Regions from separate parts of the Homo sapiens genome. Here regions 1 and 2 are each linked to region 3. Evidence: promoter capture Hi-C in human tissues and cell types (Jung and others, 2019). All regions are on one chromosome and are shown on one strand. Each heading gives the region's core, a stretch centred on a gene start or on the middle of the fragment in contact. The rest is flanking DNA. Distances are from core to core; before and after follow the strand shown. Region 1 holds the start of CELF5 (CUGBP Elav-like family member 5). Region 2 holds the start of DPP9 (dipeptidyl peptidase 9). Region 3 holds the start of EEF2 (eukaryotic translation elongation factor 2).

Region 1 (3,017 bases), core at 232-2,731, 760 kb after region 3:
GGGAGGGGGAGGGCCGGGGGTGTCCAGCACAAGGCCTTTGAAGTGGCACCCCCAGTCCCCAACACCTGACCGGAAGGCTGTCAAAGCCACCCCAATTCAGACGCTGGGCCCATGATGGGAACCAAGGGCTGGGGATACAATTGCCGGACACCCCCACCCGGGATGCCATCGGAGGGAGAATCCAGTGGGAGGGAGGCAGACAGGCCTGAGGCCGCCCACGCCTCCCTCCTCCTCCCTGTCCACCCCAGAATTTGGGCTCTGCCCAGATGGACACGTCCAAGCTCATTGTCTTGGGCCTGAGACCCCAACACATTGCTAAGAGGCTCGGCCAGTTTCAACTTGAGCCCAAGGTGGAGGCGGGGGAGGGGGAGGGCAGAGAAATGGAGGAGAGAATGCTGATCCACGCGGAGGTGGTGGGGCCAGGGGGTGGGCAGCGACGGGAGCCTCTCCGCCACCCGAGGCAGGCGAGGCGGGCGCGTCCCCCCGAGCCGGGCGCCCCCAACCCGTCTTCCTTTGTAGTTACCGATTAGCCTGGGGTCCTGGGCATCCGTGTCCCCCGCGGCCGGACCTGCCCCGCCGGCCTGGCTTTGTGAAAATAACCAAAGCAATGGAGTCCGCAGGTGCAAACTTCCCCGACGGGGCCTGGGGAGGCTGAATGAATGGGGGTGGGGGGGCAGGGAGGGGTGCCGGCGTTCCCGAGGCTCCCCTGGCAAACGGGCAGGAAAGAGTGGGGTGAGGGAGGGAGGAAGGGGTGGGGGTCTGGGGGATGGAAGGGTGAGGGAGGGAGGGAGGGAGAGAGAGGGTGCTGTGGGGGGAAGGATGAGAGGTCGAGGGAGATGGGAGAGAAGAGAAAGGGAGAGAGAGAGGGAGAGAGAGAGGGAGAGAGAGAGGAGATGCCGGAAGGTGGGGAGGGAGGGAGAGGGGGCGGAGGAGGGGAGGGGGCCCGCTCGGATCTGTCAGCTGCACCCCCAGAGAGGGGAGGAGGGGTGGGTGGGAGGGAGGGGGTAAGAACCGATGCTCCGGCAGAGGCAGGCAGAGGAGGGAGGTGAGCAGAGGAGGGATGGTGATGGGGGAGAGAAGATGCCGGAAGGTGGGGTGGGAGGCGGAGGGAGGGGGAGAGGGGGGAGGGGGCCGGGCGCCCACCTTTGTGCATCCCCGTGTAGGGGTCTTTGAGCACCGTGAGCTCGTAGATGCGGCCGAACTGCTCGAAGAGCGGCTTGAGGTCCTTCTCGTCCAGGTGCCGCGGGATCTGGCCCACGAAGAGTTTGATGGCGTCCAGGTCCTTCATGCCGTCGGGCTGCCCCCCGGGGGGCTCGGGCCCGCTGCTGCCCACGGGCGAGGGCCGCGGCTGCAGGAGCTGCTGCTGCTGCCGGCGCGCCTCGCTCTCCGTCAGGCGGGCCATGGCGGGCGCGGGACCGAGCCGGCGGCGGCGGCGGCGGGCGGCGGGCGGACTCGCAGCTGGAGCGGCGGCCGCGCCTCCCGCCTCCCTCCCGGGCCCCCGCGCCCTCCTCCCGCCCGCGCCCGCCCCGGCATCGGGACCACAAAGGCGGCTCCGCAGCGGCCCCTGGCGGCCGCGCCGCGCGGGGCAGCCGGCGCCTCCCCGCATCCCCGGGCCGCGGGGGGAAACTGAGGCCGGAAGGCCCCGGGCCCCGCCTACGGGTGGGCGAGGGCGGAGCTGCGGGCGGGACGGGCCTTAGCCGGCTTCCCAGGGGTCCCCGCCGGCTCCCGCGGAGGGCATCGGCCGGAAGAATGTCAAAAGTTGCTGGGATAATGTAGGGGGCTTGTCGTTGAAAGCGCCCGTGATCCTTAAAGTAGGTAACTCATCAATAATATTAATAACACTAATAATATGGCTGGGCGCGGTGGCTCACGCCTGTCATCTCAGCACTTTGGGAGGCCGAGGTGGGTGGATCACTTGAGGTCAGGAGTTCGAGACCAGACTGGCTAACACGGTGAAACCCCGTCTCTACTAAAGAATACAAAAATTAGCTGGGCTCGGTGGCGGGGGGTGCCTGTAATCCCAGCTACTCGGGAGGCTGAGGCAGGATAATCACTTGAACCCAGGAGGCGGAGGTTGCAGTGAGCCAAGATTGTGCCATTGTACTCCAGCCTGGGCAACAAGAGCAAAACTCCGTCTTGGTAAAAAAAAAAAAAAAAAACACCTAATAATAACAACACTAATAATAATTAATCAAGAGCAAGACAAAGTGCTCCCACTAATCACGACAGCACAGGAGAAATGGTAAAAGTATCTTCCAGTTCTATAGGGTGCTTACACATAGAAAGTGTCCTTGGCCCTTTAAGTATGTAACTCATCAATAATGTCATCAACAAGGAGGGAGACTGGCTCGCACTGATAATGACAGGATAGGAGAAATACTGAAGTATCTCCCAGCTCTAAAGTGCCCGTGATCCTTTACGTATGAAACTCATCAATAATATTAATAAAAATAATAATACGTGCTGGCCGTGGTGGCTCACACCTGTAATCCCAGCACTTTGAGAAGCAGAGTCAGGAGGACCACTTGAGCCCAGGAGTTGGAGACCAGCCTGAGCAACATAGTGAGACGCCATTGCTGTAAAAAATAAGAAAACAGGCCAGGCACGATGGCTCACACCTGTAATCCCAGCACTTTGGGAGGCTGAGGCAGGTGGATCACCTGAGATCAGGAGTTCGAGACCAGCCTGATCAACATGGAGAAAACTCTGTCTCTACTAAAAACACAAAAATTAGCCAGGCATGGTTGTGCATGCCTGTAATCCCAGCTACTCAGGAGGCTGAGGCAGGAAAATCGCTTGAACCCGGGAGGCGGAGATTGCAGTGAGCCGAGATTGCGCCATTGCACTCCAGCCTGGGCAACAAGAGTGAAACTCTGTTTGAGAAAAAAAAAAAAAAAAATCAGCCAGGAGTGGTTGGTGTGCACCGTTGGTCCCAGCTACTCGGAGGCTGCGGTGGGAGCATCGGTTGATCCCTGGGATATTAAAGCTGCAGTGAACCAGGATCGCACCACTGCCTC
Region 2 (2,984 bases), core at 162-2,661, 740 kb before region 3:
GGTCCAAGCTACCCAGGAGGCTGAGGTGGGAGGATCGCTTGAGCCCAGGAGGTGGAGGCTGCAGGGAGGGATGATCGTACCACTGCACTCGAGCCTAGGCGACAGAACGAGACTCTCTCTAAAAAATACAAAAAACAAAACACACAAAAAAGTAGTTTGATCTAAAGCAAAATGGTGAATATCTGCAGAAACTAATGTGATATCAAGTATAGATTGATATCTATGAGATGAAAAGCTTCATTTGACCCCGGATGGGTTTGTGGGCCGTTTGACGTGCATTGTTTTAATGGAAGGTGGATTTATGATAAAGTGATAAACATGTGTGTGGGTGGGTGGGTGTGTTGGAAAGGGTGTTTATTGGATTTCTTTTTGTCTTCCTTATTTTCCTTCTTTCGGTCTCTACTGTATCAAATACAATAACAGATATTCAGGAAGAGCGGATATTGCTTTAGCTGACTGTAGCCAGTGTTTCTTTGGTGGGACAACGCAACTATCACTGCAACATTATCTCTATAGGAGAATTTAAAGAACCCTGACGCCTACCGGTTTCCGTAGTGTAGCGGTTATCACATTCGCCTCACACGCGAAAGGTCCCCGGTTCGATCCCGGGCGGAAACAGGTCAGCTGTTTTTCCTAACCGGAGAGTAATACTATTTGAAATTCACCGAAAGAACGATTCTAGTCCCATTCTTTCTCTTCCGCCTTCCTCCTGCCTTTTAGACATTTTTATGGGATTTAAAAAAATTTTCCGTGATTGATGGCTCACGCCTGTAATCCCAGCACTTTGAAAGGCCGAAGAGGGCGGATCACCTGAAGTCAGAGTTCGAGACCAGCCTGGCCAAAATGGTGAACCGCCCCCCCCCCCCCACCCCGCCCCACCCCGCCCCACCCCACCCCATCTCTACTAAAAATACAAAAATTAGATGGGCGTGGTGGCGTGCGCTTGTAATCACAGCTACTTGGGAGGCTGAGGCAGGAGAATCGTTTGAACCTGGGAGGTGGTGGTTGCAGTGAGCGGAGATCACGCCACTGCACTCCAGCCTGGGGGACCGAGCGAGACTCCGTCTCAAAACTAAAATGAAAATTTCAAACTCGCAAAAGTGGTACCGCATGCGTTGGCCGGGAATCGAACCCGGGTCAACTGCTTGGAAGGCAGCTATGCTAACCACTATACCACCAACGCCCTGATAGGTAGCATCCTCTCCGGATATCCTTAATAGTGGGGGATCATGGGTTTGACTGAGTGATACCAAGTCACAGGGGGGTGTCTCTCCCTAACCCACCGGAAGATGTCGTTCATGGGGCGTTACGCACCTTAGGCCGCCGCGCCGCGGGCTCCCCCCCAAGCGCCGCGGACGCCTTGGTACGTGCCTGGTGGTGTCCAATCCCAGGCCGCCGCCTGGGTCGCTCAACTTCCGGGTCAAAGGTGCCTGAGCCGGCGGGTCCCCTGTGTCCGCCGCGGCTGTCGTCCCCCGCTCCCGCCACTTCCGGGGTCGCAGTCCCGGGCATGGAGCCGCGACCGTGAGGCGCCGCTGGACCCGGGACGACCTGCCCAGTCCGGCCGCCGCCCCACGTCCCGGTGAGCAGCGCCCGCGCGCCTCGTCCCGCCCCGGCCGCGACCCTGAACCCGCCATTGACCGGCCCCGCCTCGGCCCTGACCCTGCCCTCGCCATCGCCTGGCCTCCCCGCACCCCGGAGCCTCCATGCACCCGTCTGTGGGTCCCTCCGGCCCCCTGCCTCGTTTCCTCTCCGCCCCAGGCCCTCCTCCACCTTCTTTCCCTCCCCGATTCCTGCGCTGGCCAGGCCACCTCCCAGTTTCTCCCCTTCCCTGATGGGCTTCCCCACCCATCCCGTTGCTGCCCAGGCCACCAGGCTCTGACCCCTTCCGGAGGTGGCCGCACCCAAGAACGTCCTCGTAGCTGCAGACCTTGACACCCTCTCCCCTTTCGTGCAGGCTCTGGAGGTCCCGATCTCCTCCCTCTCCCCATGCAAATGCTGTATATGCACAGAGGCCACCTCCCTCGACCTGCATCCTGTCCTCACTCCTTTACCACTTCCTCCAACCTTCGCCCCGAGGCTTGGTCTCCCCAATCCAGTCCTGATCCTCAACCCTACTTGATCCCTCTATTAAGGGTATCCAGAGACTCTTTTTCCTGCCGAGGCGTTGGTGGTGTAGTGGTTAGCATAGCTGTCTTCCAAGGGTCCAGCCCACAGGGTTCAGCCCCCTTCTCTCAGCCTCCCTTCTCAGGCCTGTCCAACCGCCTACCTTCTTCCCACACAGCCTTAGGCCAGCCCTGACACTTCCCTGTTCACGCTGCCTCTGAGCCATCAAAAGTGGTCTATTCCCTTGGCCCCCACCCCCTGGTCTTCCCCAGGGGCCCCAGGAGGAAGTCACTTGCCTCCCAGGCAAGAACCAACCTGCTTTCGAGGAGCTGGGACTAAAGCCCAGGGGGTGTGGACCGTAGGCACCAATCCCTGCATTCCTCTGCTGGGTCCCAGGGGAATCGGGGCCCGTGGGATGGCTTCTCTCCCAGATTCTGTCCAGGGCATGCAGACAGTGCTGCAGGGCTTCAAGGCAGAGCTAGAATCTAGCCAGGTAGAATCGGGCCTGACAGTCTGCAGCTCCTGAGTGGGGGAGGCTGAACGGCTGGCCGGTGCTTCCATTAACCTGCCACATTCATGACATGTTTATCCTATAAAGGTCTGTGTCCCACGCCTGCAGCTGGAATGGAGGCTCTCTGGACCCTTTAGAAGGTCAGTTGTGCTGGGGTTTGGCAGCCAGGAAGGCTGGGGTGTGGGCTGGTGGGATTCCTTTGCCTGCTCTAGAATATAGACATGGGCAGGAAATGGTTTTCTATGGCCCTGGATGGTTGTCCTCCGCAGGGCAGTGGCTGCAGTTTTTTGTGCGCCTGCTGGAGGCTTTTCTTTCCACCCCTGTCCCCCTCTAGCTGCCCCTGGAAGGAGCTTTTTGAAGGCTTTGAGGA
Region 3 (3,086 bases), core at 452-2,951:
ATCTCGGCTAACTGCAACCTCCGCCTCTCGCCTGACACCTCTTTTAATGAAAACCTTTCCATTACATCTCTGAAATGCTCCCACTTTGCACGGAAAAAACGGCTGCGAAGCCCCCAATAGGAAACGCAACACGTAGCAGGTGCTCAGTGCATTTAAAAATTTTGAAGAATTTTATTATTAATAATGCGAAACTGACTACCCCTCTGCTAAAAACTCATGCCCCAAATGGCGCATGCGCTTGACTTGCAACTTAACTAAACGCGTCACAGGTACAGGTGTAGGTGGTTAGGGACCCCGGGCGCTCCCATCTGCTCCCTGCCGCGCCCTCTGCCTTTCAGAGCCTCAATCCTTTCGGAAGATACTTTTCAGTTTTCCACTGGGTTAAATGGTGATAGGAAGAGCAATCATCCGTTAAATGAAACCCAAGGTTGAGACAGCGCTTTGTAAAGCAAAGTGCCCGAAGCATTCGTGAGGGGGAGGAGTGTACAGGTTTATTTTAGAGTCCAGGCTGGAATTTGCATTGCTTTTTGTGGATCCACACCTCCCCCTCTCCCAGCCCAGGAAAAGCACTGCAGTGGCTCTCCTGTTTCACAAAGTGAGTTTAAGGAAAGATGTACCGCAGGGGGTTCATTTGCACTGTGAGAACATCATTCATGCAAGAAATGCTGAGTACCTACTATGTGCTAAACAGCGGGTTGGGCTTTTCATAAGGGATAGAGTTACACAATTGAATGCCAATTCATGAGATATGAAATACATTCAACTGTTTCTTAGGGTCAGATTAGGACACAAATGCTAAACAGTCTTCCTGCGCCTCCCCCTGGAGAGGAAATGAAATAGAAAATGAAATTGTGCCAGTAAACCGCTTAGCCGGGTGCCTGGGACATGGCAAACCAGTCCTGAAATAAATAACTGTTTTATTAATAGCAATCTTAGCTAATTAAAATAGATAGCGTTTATTGAGCGTTGGGTATCAGGCACGGTCCTAATTCTTTTAGATGTCTTTAGTTCGTTTCACTCTCCCCCAAACAATAGGGTGGTATTGATCACCTCCGAGCAGGTGAAATTGAGGCACAGAGAAATCCTAGTAGCTGGTAGAAGAACACGCAGTGTGGTCAAGCTAGCAAGGTGTTTGGTCCACTGCTATATCTACAAAACCCCTAACAATGCCTGGTGTATAGATGCTCAGTATGCATTTGTGGGATCAGTGATTCCGATGCCTGCTTCTTATAAAGTTTTTATTTAGAAATAATTACAGGTAAGGAGTTGCAAAAACAGTATAGTGGTCGCGAGTGTCCTTTTTCCCTCGGCTTCTCCCAGGGGTATCGTCTTACGTAACAATGTCCAAACAGGGAAATTGACTTGGGTATAATCCACAGACTCTATTCACCTTGTAAATTGGTTTTAATAGAAGTACTGGACAACTTGTAAGCTAATATCGTTGCTATGGTTCTCGTTCTCAGCTAAAACGGCGCTCTTTACTTTGTGCACCTGAACACTGCACACCGAGGGCGACCACCGCCCCCGAGATGCCCAGCTTCTATTCTAGAGCGCCGCGCCGGCGCCGAATGGGTTAACGGGCGGGGGGACACGCCTCCGTGCGCTTGCGCGGCGTCCCTTCGCCCCGCCTTCGCAGCGCAGTCACATGACCCGCCCAACCGGCGTCCGCCTATAAAAAGCTGAGTGTTGACGTCAGCGTTCTCTTCCGCCGTCGTCGCCGCCATCCTCGGCGCGACTCGCTTCTTTCGGTTCTACCTGGGAGAATCCACCGCCATCCGCCACCATGGTGAGTAACCCTGCCTCGCTGGTGCCCCGGAGCGGCGGCGGGGCCTCCGCGGGGCCTACGCTGCCTAGCCTGGGACGCTGGGGCCCCCCGTGCCAGGAGGAGACGTAGCGGCGGCGGGGCCGGAGGACCCGGGGCTGGGGAAGCGGCCGCCGCCATGTCTGTGCGCCGCGCTGTTCACCGAGCCCTTTCTCCGTTTCCGAGGGCGCCATAACCTTGCCCAGACCTGGTTGGAGCTGGGTTGTTAGCGGGGATGGGGGTGGGGAATGATGATGTGGCAGGCGTAGTAATGGCGGGCACCGCGGTGGAAGCGGGGAGACAGGGAGGCGCCTTATGTAACCCGCGGGCCGCGAGTTTGAGATCGATTTTCTGCCGGGGGACTAGGGGCGGCAGGGAATGGCAGAACGAGCAAAGCGACACCTGAAAGGCTCCCCTTTTCCTTCCAAATACCTTCTCCTGATGCTGTTAATCGTCGACCTTAGGCACTTGTCCTTCCTATGACTCCCAGATGTACAAAGACTCTTATTGAGACACGAGGTGTAGGCTTGTGGCAGTTAGGGCCGTTCCGGCTCCCCGTTATTTCCTGGGGTGGGTGGCCTTGTCTGATCCCGTTTGCCAAGGGGTGACCTTGCATTTTATGATGAAGCTTCTTGCTCGGGGAAGTTTGGGTGGCCCGGTGACAACGTGGAGGGGGCTTTAGGAGAGGATTCATCCCTTACGTGTTTGGCCCCAAATGAGACTTTAGTATTTGTACCTGGTATCAAGGAAATCTGTTGACACTCAGTTTTATTCCTGAGCACTTTTATTTCTGGGTTGTCAATCATGAATGACACCTATTAACGGTGGTTCCTTGGAGATTGCGGGGTGGCTCTTAAGGGGTGTTAGGCTGGCAAGATTCGGTGGGCTTGGGGCACCCCAGCACCAACCCCCTCCTGGCCTTGGGCATGCTGGTTCGTTTGGACTGAACGCTCCGTGCCATGCTGTGTTCCTGGAAATCACGAGCTGGTCTGAGCCTCCTTGTCTTGCCCAGGTGAACTTCACGGTAGACCAGATCCGCGCCATCATGGACAAGAAGGCCAACATCCGCAACATGTCTGTCATCGCCCACGTGGACCATGGCAAGTCCACGCTGACAGACTCCCTGGTGTGCAAGGCGGGCATCATCGCCTCGGCCCGGGCCGGGGAGACACGCTTCACTGATACCCGGAAGGACGAGCAGGAGCGTTGCATCACCATCAAGTCAACGTGAGCTCCCTGTGCCCTCTGTACCCAGGCAGGGAGGTGCTGGCCTGGCAGCTGGAGG

Evidence for each region. Contacts are between HindIII fragments. The study calls those that stand out against the background at their distance.
Region 1: a contact is called between the fragment with the promoter of CELF5 here and the fragment with the promoter of EEF2 in region 3, in 2 of the 25 tissues and cell types used here (pancreas and thymus).
Region 2: the fragment with the promoter of DPP9 here is called in contact with the fragment with the promoter of EEF2 in region 3 in 2 of the 25 tissues and cell types used here (bladder and heart left ventricle).

The regions. Positions count from the first base shown.
Region 1 is chr19:3,223,125-3,226,141 of GRCh38, reverse strand. CELF5 (CUGBP Elav-like family member 5) reads right to left here and starts at 1,481. Exons shown (of 13, transcript NM_021938.4): 1 at 1,144-1,481. The coding sequence starts at 1,402. RefSeq lists a silencer at 1,541-1,660. The HindIII fragment of the contact is 19,492 bases long and covers 1-3,017 here.
Region 2 is chr19:4,722,269-4,725,252 of GRCh38, reverse strand. It overlaps DPP9 (dipeptidyl peptidase 9), which reads left to right and starts at 1,411. Exons shown (of 22, transcript NM_139159.5): 1 at 1,411-1,579; 2 at 2,702-2,754. TRG-TCC1-1 (tRNA-Gly (anticodon TCC) 1-1) reads right to left here and starts at 1,183; the gene lies at 1,112-1,183. TRV-CAC3-1 (tRNA-Val (anticodon CAC) 3-1) reads left to right here and starts at 546; the gene lies at 546-618. LOC105372250 (a long non-coding RNA gene) reads right to left here and starts at 2,373. Exons shown (of 3, transcript XR_936274.2): 1 at 2,267-2,373; 2 at 544-633; 3 at 1-118. RefSeq lists silencers at 491-690, 1,141-1,230, 1,461-1,610. The HindIII fragment of the contact is 28,361 bases long and covers 1-2,984 here.
Region 3 is chr19:3,984,078-3,987,163 of GRCh38, reverse strand. It overlaps EEF2 (eukaryotic translation elongation factor 2), which reads left to right and starts at 1,701. Exons shown (of 15, transcript NM_001961.4): 1 at 1,701-1,786; 2 at 2,814-3,028. The coding sequence starts at 1,784. RefSeq lists enhancers at 1,466-1,515, 2,771-2,990, 2,284-3,086 and a silencer at 1,796-1,905. The HindIII fragment of the contact is 12,453 bases long and covers 1-3,086 here.